Linked DNA regions of Homo sapiens: region 1 is linked to region 2. Evidence: promoter capture Hi-C in human tissues and cell types (Jung and others, 2019). All regions are on one chromosome and are shown on one strand. The core of a region is centred on a gene start or on the middle of the fragment in contact, and the rest is flanking DNA. Distances in the headings are between cores, read along the strand shown. Region 1 overlaps LOC101927623 (a long non-coding RNA gene). Region 2 holds the start of GOLM1 (golgi membrane protein 1).

The links. The method cuts DNA at HindIII sites, captures the fragments that hold promoters and counts their contacts. A contact is called where the count stands out against the background at its distance.
Region 1: a fragment that was not itself captured here is called in contact with the fragment with the promoter of GOLM1 in region 2 in 1 of the 25 tissues and cell types used here (H1 embryonic stem cells).

What each region holds. Positions count from the first base shown.
Region 1 is chr9:86,150,028-86,154,414 of GRCh38, reverse strand. The region is part of intron 4 of LOC101927623 (a long non-coding RNA gene); the gene reads right to left. Among named protein-coding and RNA genes, the nearest start is that of GOLM1, 53 kb to the right of the region's middle. The HindIII fragment of the contact is 3,790 bases long and covers 1,066-4,387 here.
Region 2 is chr9:86,097,773-86,101,910 of GRCh38, reverse strand. It overlaps GOLM1 (golgi membrane protein 1), which reads left to right and starts at 2,353. Exons shown (of 10, transcript NM_016548.4): 1 at 2,353-2,500. RefSeq lists silencers at 2,142-2,461, 2,472-2,571, 2,732-2,781 and an enhancer at 2,412-2,912. The HindIII fragment of the contact is 18,007 bases long and covers 1-4,138 here.

The sequences.
Region 1 (4,387 bases), core at 1,711-4,210, 52 kb before region 2:
GACCAAGAGGAACAGGCCGAAAAGGAAAAGTGAGATCAGAGAAAGGCTGCAGCCTTAGTAATGGCCCTCAGATAAACAAACCTTGGTGGTTCAGAGAGGATAGAAAAGAGCAGGCCAATCACCCAGTAGGACTTATTATCAGTGTGGCTTACAAGGACACTTTAAAAAAGATTGTCCAACAAGAAATAAGCTGCCCCCTCGTCCATGTCTGCTATGCTGAGGCAATCACTGGAAGGTGCACTGCCCCAGAGGGCAAAGGTTCTCTGGGCCAGAAGCCCCCAACCAGATGATCCAACAATAGGACTGAGGGTGCCTGGGGCAAGTGCCAGCTCATGTCATCACCCTCACTGAGCACCGAGTATGTTTAACCATTGAGGGCCAGGAAATTGACTTCCTCCTGGACACTGGTGCAGCCTTCTCAGTGTTAATCTCCTGTCCCAGACGACGGTCCTCAAGGTCCACTACCATCCGAGGAATCCTGGGACAGCCTGTAACCAGGTATTTCTCCCACCTCCTCAGTTGTAACTGGGAGACTTTACTCTTTTCACATGCCTTTCTTGTTATGCCTGAAAGTCCCACATCCTTATTAGGGAGGGATATATTAGCCAAAGCTGGAGCTATTATCTACATGAATATGGGGAACAAATCACCCATTCATTGTCCCCTACTTGAGGAGGGAATCAACCCTGAAGTCTTGGCATTGGAAGGACAATTTGGAAGGGCAAAAAATGCCCACCCAGTCCAAATCAGGCTAAAAGATCCCACCACTTTTCCTTATCAAAGGCAATATCCCTTAAGGCCTGAAGCTCATAAAGGATTACAGGATATTAAACATATAAAAGCTCAAGGCTTAGTAAGGAAATGCAGCAGTCCCTGCAACACCCCAATTCTAGGAGTACAAAAACAGAACAGCCAGTGGAGACTAGTGCAAGATCTTAGACTCACCAATGAGGCAGTAATTCCTCTATATCCAGTTGTACCCATCCCCTATACACTGCTCTCTCAAATACCAGAGGAAGCAGAATGGTTCACTGTTCTGGACCTCAAGGATGCTTTCTTCCATATTCCCCTGCACTCTGACTCCCAGTTTCTCTTTGCCTTTGAGGATCCCACAGACCACACATCCCAACTTACGTGGATGGTCTTGCCCAAGGGTTTAGGGATAGCCCTCACCTGTTTGGTCAGGCACTGGCCCAAGATCTAGGCCACTTCTCAAATCCAGGCATTCTGGTCCTTCAGTATGTGGATGATTTGCTTTTGGCTACCAGTTCAGAAGTGTCATGCCAGCAGGCTACTCTAGATCTCTTGGACTTTCTAGCTAATCAAGGGTAAAAGGCATCTAGGTCGAAGGCTCAGCTTTGCCTACAACGGGTCAAATATCTAGGCCTAATCTTAGCTAGAGGGACCAGAGCCCACAGCAAGGAATGAATACAGCCTATACTGGCTTATCCTCACCCTAAGACATTAAAACATTTGTGGGGGTTCCTTGGAATCACTGGCTTTTGCCAACTATGGGATCCCCGGATACAGCAAGATAGCCAGGCCCCTCTATAATCAAGGAGACCCAGAGGGCAAATACTCATCTAGTAGAATGGGAGCCAGGGGCAGTAACAGCCTTCAAAACCTTAAAGCAGGCCCTAGTACAAGCTCCAGCTTTAAGCCTTCCCACAGGACAAAACTTCTGTTTATACATCACAGAGAGAGCAGGGATAGCTCTTGGAGTCCTTACTCAGACTCGTGGGACAACCCCACAACCAGTGGCATACCTAAGTAAGGAAATTGATGTAGTAGTGAAAGTCTGGCCTCACTGTTTAAGGGTAGTTGCAGCAGTGGCCATCTTAGTGTCAGAGGGTATCAAAATAATACAAGGAAAGGATCTCACTGTCTGGACTACTCATGATGTAAATGGCATACTAGGTGCCAAAGGAAGTTTATGGCTATCAGATAACCACCTACTTAGATACCAGGCGCTACTCCTTGAGGGACTGGTGCTTCAAATGCTTATGTGCATGGCCCTCAATCCTGCCACTTTTATCCCAGAAGATGGGGAACCAGTTGAGCATGACTGCCAACAAATTATAGTCCAGAGTTATGCCACCCAAGATGATCTCTTAGAAGTCCCCTTAGCTAATTCTGACCTTAACCTATATACCAATGGAAGTTAATATGCGGAGAATGGGATACGAAGGGCAGGTTACACCATAGTTAGTGATGTAACCATACTTGAAAGTAAGCCTCTTCCCCCAGGGACCAGCGCCCACTTAGCAGAACTAGCAGCACTTACCCAAGCCTTAGAACTAGGAAAAGGAAAAAGAATAAATGTGTATACAGATAGCAAGTATGCTTATCTGATCCTACATGCCCATGGTGCAATATGGAAAGAAAGGGAGTTCCTAACCTCTGGGGGAGCCCCCATTAAATACCACAAGGAAATTATGGAGTTATTGCATGCAGTGCATAAACCCAAGGAGGTGGCAGTCTTACACTGCCGAAGTCATCAGAAAGGTGAAGGAGAAAAGGCAGAAGGAAACTGTTGGGCAGATGCTGAGGCCAAAATTGCTGCCAGGCAGAACCTCCCATTAGAAATAGCTATGGAAGGACCTTTGATAGGAACAACCCCCTCCAAGTATTCCCCAACTGAAACAGAATGGGGACTTTCACGGGGGTATAGTTTTCTCCCCTCCGGGTGGTTAACAACAGAAGAAGGAAAGGTACTTATGCCTGAAGCCAACCAGTGGAAAATACTTAAAACCCTCCACCAAACTTTTCATATGGGTATTGAAAACACTCTTCAAATGGCCAAATCCCTATTTACAGGGCCAAATCTCCTCTGGACCATCCGACAGGTAGTCAAAGCCTGTGAGGTGTGCCAAAGGAATAATCCCTTGGTCCATCATAAGGCTCCTTTGGGGGAACAAAGAATAGATCACTATCCTGGAGAGGACTGGCAGTTAGACTTCACCCATCTGCCTAAGTCAAAGGGATTTCAATACTTGGTGGTCTGTATTGATACCTTTACAAATTGGATAGAAGCTTTCCCCTGCAAGACAGAGAAGGCTCAGGAAGCGATTAAAGTCCTAATTCATGAAATAATTCCTAGATCTGGGCTTCCCCAAAGCTTACAGAGTGACAATGGTCCGGCTTTTAAAGCCACGAAAACTCAGGGAATTTCCAGGGTGTTAGGGATACAATATCACCTTCACTGCACCCTGAGGCCACAATCCTCAGGGAAGGTCGAGCAGGCAAATGAAACACTCAAGAGGCACTTAAGGAAATGAACACAAGAAACTCATCTCCCATGGCCTACTCTTTTGCCCATGGCCTTCTTGAGAATCCAAAATTCTCCTCACAAAATGGGATTCAGTCCATATGAAATGCTGTATGGATGACATTTGCTCACAAATGACCTCATACTTGATCAGGAAACAGCCAACTTGGTCAAAGATATAACTTCTTTGGCAAAATATCAACAAAACCTTAAAAAACTACCTGAAGGATGTCACAGAGAAAAGGGAACAGAGTTGTTTCAATCAGGAGATCTAGTGTTAGTCAAATCTCTCCCCTCTACCTCCCCACCTACGGACTCTTTGTGGAAAGGATCATACTCGGTAATCCTCTCTACCCCCACTGCAGTTAAGGTGGCAGGAGTGGAATCTTGGATTCATCACACCCGAGTTAAGTTCTGGACATCCCCTGAGGAACCTGCAGGACCATCAGCTCAGGAGTCCCAAGATCAGCCAGACAAGCCTCCATACACCTTTGAACCATTGGAGGATTGCATCTCCTATTTTGGAAGGAAATAACCCAGACTTAAAAGGCTCCTACCATTGATCCTGAAGAAAAACCCCTTCCTCCTTAAAAAGATAAATGAAGACCTACATAATCTTTATCTTTAACACCTCTCCTTACCCCTTTAATGGAATCCTTTTATTATTTCATCATATTATTAAGCAGCATACTAACCATACTCTTTGCAATAGGGCTATATACTGTAGCTCCTGCTGGGATGAAAATCTTAATCACATCAACCTTCTCTCTATCTTCCTTCCTTCTGACAGCAATTTACTCCTAGCTTTAACTCAGCCTGGATAAAATGATCTCGTCTTCCAGAGCACCCTCTTGACCTTCCTATTTATGCTTTGCCTATCTTTCCCTTCTGCTTCCTTGGATACCTCATGCAATCACCCCTCCCCTTCCACTAGCTCCTAATTACCTCTACAAGACTCTCAACTTAACCCACTCTCTGTTAAACCAGTCCAATCCTTCCCTGGAAAATGACTGCTGGCTTTGTATCTTTCTATCAACCTCCGCTTACATTGCCATTCCCATTCCCGCAAAAAACTGGGTCTTTACCAACTTAATCTACCACCCTCATTATGAAGGAAAA
Region 2 (4,138 bases), core at 1,104-3,603:
AGTGAAACCCTGTCTCAAAATAAATAAATAAATAAATAAATATTAAAGCCTTTAGGGCTGTTGGGATGGAATAAATGTATTTTGTATGTGAGAAGGATATGAACTGGGGGTGGTGGGGGGCATAGAAGCAGAATGCTATGGTTTGAATGTGTGCTCCATAAAGCACGTGTTGAAAACTGAATCTCCAGTGCAACAGTGTTGGGAGGTGGGGCCCAAAGGGAGGTGTTTAGGTCATAAAGGCTCCACTCTTATAAATAAATTAATGCCAATTATAGAGGGTTTGAGGCTGCAAGTTCAATTTCACATACACCCTCTTGCCCTTCTGCCTTCCACCACAGGCTGATGCAGCAAGAAGGCCCTTGCAAGATGCCAGCACCTTGATATTAGACTTCCTAGCCTTCAGAACTATGAGAAATACATTTCTTTTCTTTATAAATTACTGAGTCTGTGGAATTGTGTTATAGCAACACAAAATGGACTAAGACATTAAGGAAAGGATGCTTAACAGGCAAAACATGGATGCTTCCTTCAACCAACCACTGTAGCCCCTTGCACATTGTTTAATCAAAACCCATCCAATTGAATTTTCAGGGCCAGCAACTGATTAGCTTTTTTATAAGGAATGTAAATTATGTATATAGATATATATAAAACTGCATCTTAAAATTTTCAACTTTTGTCATAAAGAATCTAACGAAAAGGACTAATTCATCTTCAATTAAAATATAGCTCATTCAGCCAGCTGCCTTAGCACCTAGACATATGGACCTGTTCCATAAAGTGTTTAAGAATCACTGAGTGAGTCGCTAATTAGTTGCTGATAAATGAGAGACTAATGGAGACCCTCCTTAGAGCCAAATGATATAGAAGTTACAGTCCACCAGTCTAAGAATGTAAACTATACTAAGAGAGCTAAAATGGGCAAGAAAGGGAATTTCCTGTACCTGTCCCCGATTATGGTTATTTAAGCTCACTAGAAGATCAAAGTGACACAACTTAAGTCTGCAAAACCAGGGCTGACATCTGATACAGCCTCAGCTTCTGAATGCTTTGGTCTGACCCTACAACAGTTTAACAGTTGCAGATAACAAAAATATCATTTTGGAATATAGTAGAACATTCCTCTAAAGGGGTCATGTATGGTCAGCTTCTAATTCAGCTAAGAGGTTTTAGCTGGTAAAGATACGTTTCCTGCAGTTAAGAAGCTCCATGCTCAGGTAGCAATAGGGTATCTTGATCACCTTTTTTAAGGTGACTCTTTGTTCTGGTTAAAATCAATTTCAGCTGTGAGCATTCCTTTAGGTGTTCATGTATTTACTTGTTTTTTTATTGTGATTTGAGAGAGGCGCAGAGGAAGGAGTTTCCTTTCCCAGACACCAGAGCTAGGAAGACATGAAGACATGATTCTAGGAAAACTGTTCTCAATCTTGGCCGTATACTGTATTAGGATTATCTGGGAAGCTCAAAACAAACAAAAAATATCAAGTTCACTTTGAACTCTGGAAGTGGGACCCTGGTTCCTAAATGCTCTAAAAGCTCCCCAAATAATTCTAATGGATGGCAGGTGCTGCCAGAGTTAAGAACCATTGCTTTAGAATTTTCTAGCATGGTTTCCCTGTAGGTCACTAGTTTTGTGGCATTCTCTCCGGGAGGTACGGCCTCATAGGGCTTCTCAAACATCAGTGCGCCTGAGCGTCATCTGAGGCGCTGTTTCAAATGCAGCTGCCCGGGCTATAAGATCACACCCGAAGGCGTCCGGGAATCTTCACTTTTTCCGTTGCTAGCAGTGGAAGGGTCACAGACCAAACACTAAGGCCTGAGCGGTGACAACCGAGGCGAGATGATGGTCAACAGGGAATGCCTCGTGGGAGAAAAAAGACAATTTTGTGAGTATAAGCCCCCTAAAAACCTGTTTTTCGTTCGCTTCCTTCTCTGGGCAGTTTTGACCCGACGACTTTTATAAAGAAGGTAACGTGAGTGTGGCGCTGGGTGCGGTTGGCTGTTCGGGAACATTCCCTCGGGGCGGAACGTGGGATGGGGGCTCCCCCCAGGTACCCTTTCCCCACAGCCGCTTCCCCGCTCCGCGTCGCTGCTCAGGCGCCAGCTCCCGCGTCGGAAGGGGCGATGGGGTGGCCCGGGGGAAGGGGCAACGCCCAGCGGCGAGAACTGGGCGCACGCTGGCGTTCCTGCTCCCGCCGAGGGGCGGCCACCGGCCGGGGCGCGCGCACCGTGGGGCCGGGAGTCCGCGCGGCCCCGGCAGCCCCTGCCTCGCTTCTCCGCGCTCGCGGCGCCGCCTCCTCCCTTCGCGCCGCCGGCGCTGCTCGGGGGCGGGGCCTTGCCGCTGCGGAGGCCGGAGACGCGGCGGCGCTGGACGCGGAGGCGCTGGGCGCACGGCGCGGAGCCGGCCGGAGCTCGAGGCCGGCGGCGGCGGGAGAGCGACCCGGGCGGCCTCGTAGCGGGGCCCCGGATCCCCGAGTGGCGGCCGGAGCCTCGAAAAGAGGTGAGTGGGCGGCGCGCGGCCCCAGGCTGCCCGAACCGCGGTCCATCGCTTCCTCCCTCCTTTGCCCAGGGCCCGTACCCCGCGCGCCGAGACCTCGCGTCGGTCCCCGGAGCCTCCCCGCGGCTTGCGCCGGGGCTGCAACCTTCGCTGGCTGCGCTCGGGGCTGGCTCCGCACCTTCCTGCACCGAGTAGCCCGCGGCTGCCTGGGCCCCTCGGCTCGCTCCCCAAGACCGGGCGCGCGGCCCCCTTGCCCTGCGATGAGGGGCCTCGCGAGGATTCCCTGCCCTGCAGTCTCAGGCGATGCGGGGCCTGTCTTTTTGTTCTGAGCTTTGTCACGCGCGTCGGCATCCAAAGTCAAAAGCGTGCACCCCCTAAGTCGCACTAGTTCCAGTTCTGCAGCGTGATTTGCACCAGGCGCGGGAGGCTGGCCGAGCCGCGAGTCTCTCGGCTCCCGCCGCCTCTTCCTCCCCTCCAGCCCCAGGCGCGCTCCGGCCGCCCTGGGGTCCACGTTGCCGCTGGGCCTCGTGGCTGGTGACCCCGGAGCTTGGGCTCCGGGTCCTCCCGCCGCGCGTCCAGAGCGCGGCTGCATCCCGTTCTCGTGGATGCTCGGGGTTTTCTCGCATACCTGTGTTTCCACCTTTGCCAACGTGGAGGATCCACACAACTTTGCCCTGCTGTAAAAATCATATCCCATTTAATATTTTTAATGATTTGCTTTTAAGAAACAAAATGTGAAGAATAACAATTTTGATGAAATTTTTTAGCAAAATTTAAGAATTATTATATTTGAAATACCATGATGATGCTGGACAATTTCAGATGTCCCATAGCCAGATTTGCAAAACTAAACTTGTGTGACTTTCACGATTTTGAGGTTTTCTTTGTCTGATTTGGGGTCCCTAGGCCCTACATTATGCACATTATTGAGGAACATTTCTAGGGCTGGATTAGTGAGATACACAATAACCTGATGAAGTATTTAGCAGCGCTTGAGTGGCTTTGTTTAGCTCATGGCCATCAGGTTGGCTCAAATCTCAGTTTTAGTATTTCTGAATTTTGGAGGGCATGGGACAATCTCTTGTCAGTTTTTGTGGGTCTCCAAAGGCATCCTAGCTTCTTCCAGTTGTGTTATAAAAGATGAAGCTAAGCTCATTACTTTCTTTCTTAATAGAAACTAGTAACTTGCTAAGACTTACTGTTTTTAGGCCAGACACTCAATTCTTAAGGTGTCAGTGAACAAAAATTGAATTGTTAGGATGGTTAAAGAAAAGAGGTTAGCTTTTAAGATACATTTTGTTCTCCTATGGAGAGGTTATCCAATTTTCACATTTTTTTTTAAAGTTGGTTTTACAGGAAAACGAAAGAAATGAGAGGAAAGTAGTGCTGAGGGTGGGGCCAGGAAATTGTGGTGACTTGGATATTAAGGGCCAGGGATACCATCTGCTTTCTAATGGCTGGTTTAGGTCCAGTTATTGATGGGAAATGAAAAGATTTTGCATTTACATTCCACCCGCTGTTGTTGTTGTTGTTGAGGGCTGGGCAGAAACAACAGTTAGGACAGCTGACCATAGCAGGCCCAGGGCTACCCGGGTTTATATATATATGGCCACCTTCCCCAGGAAGGAGGGAACTGCTACC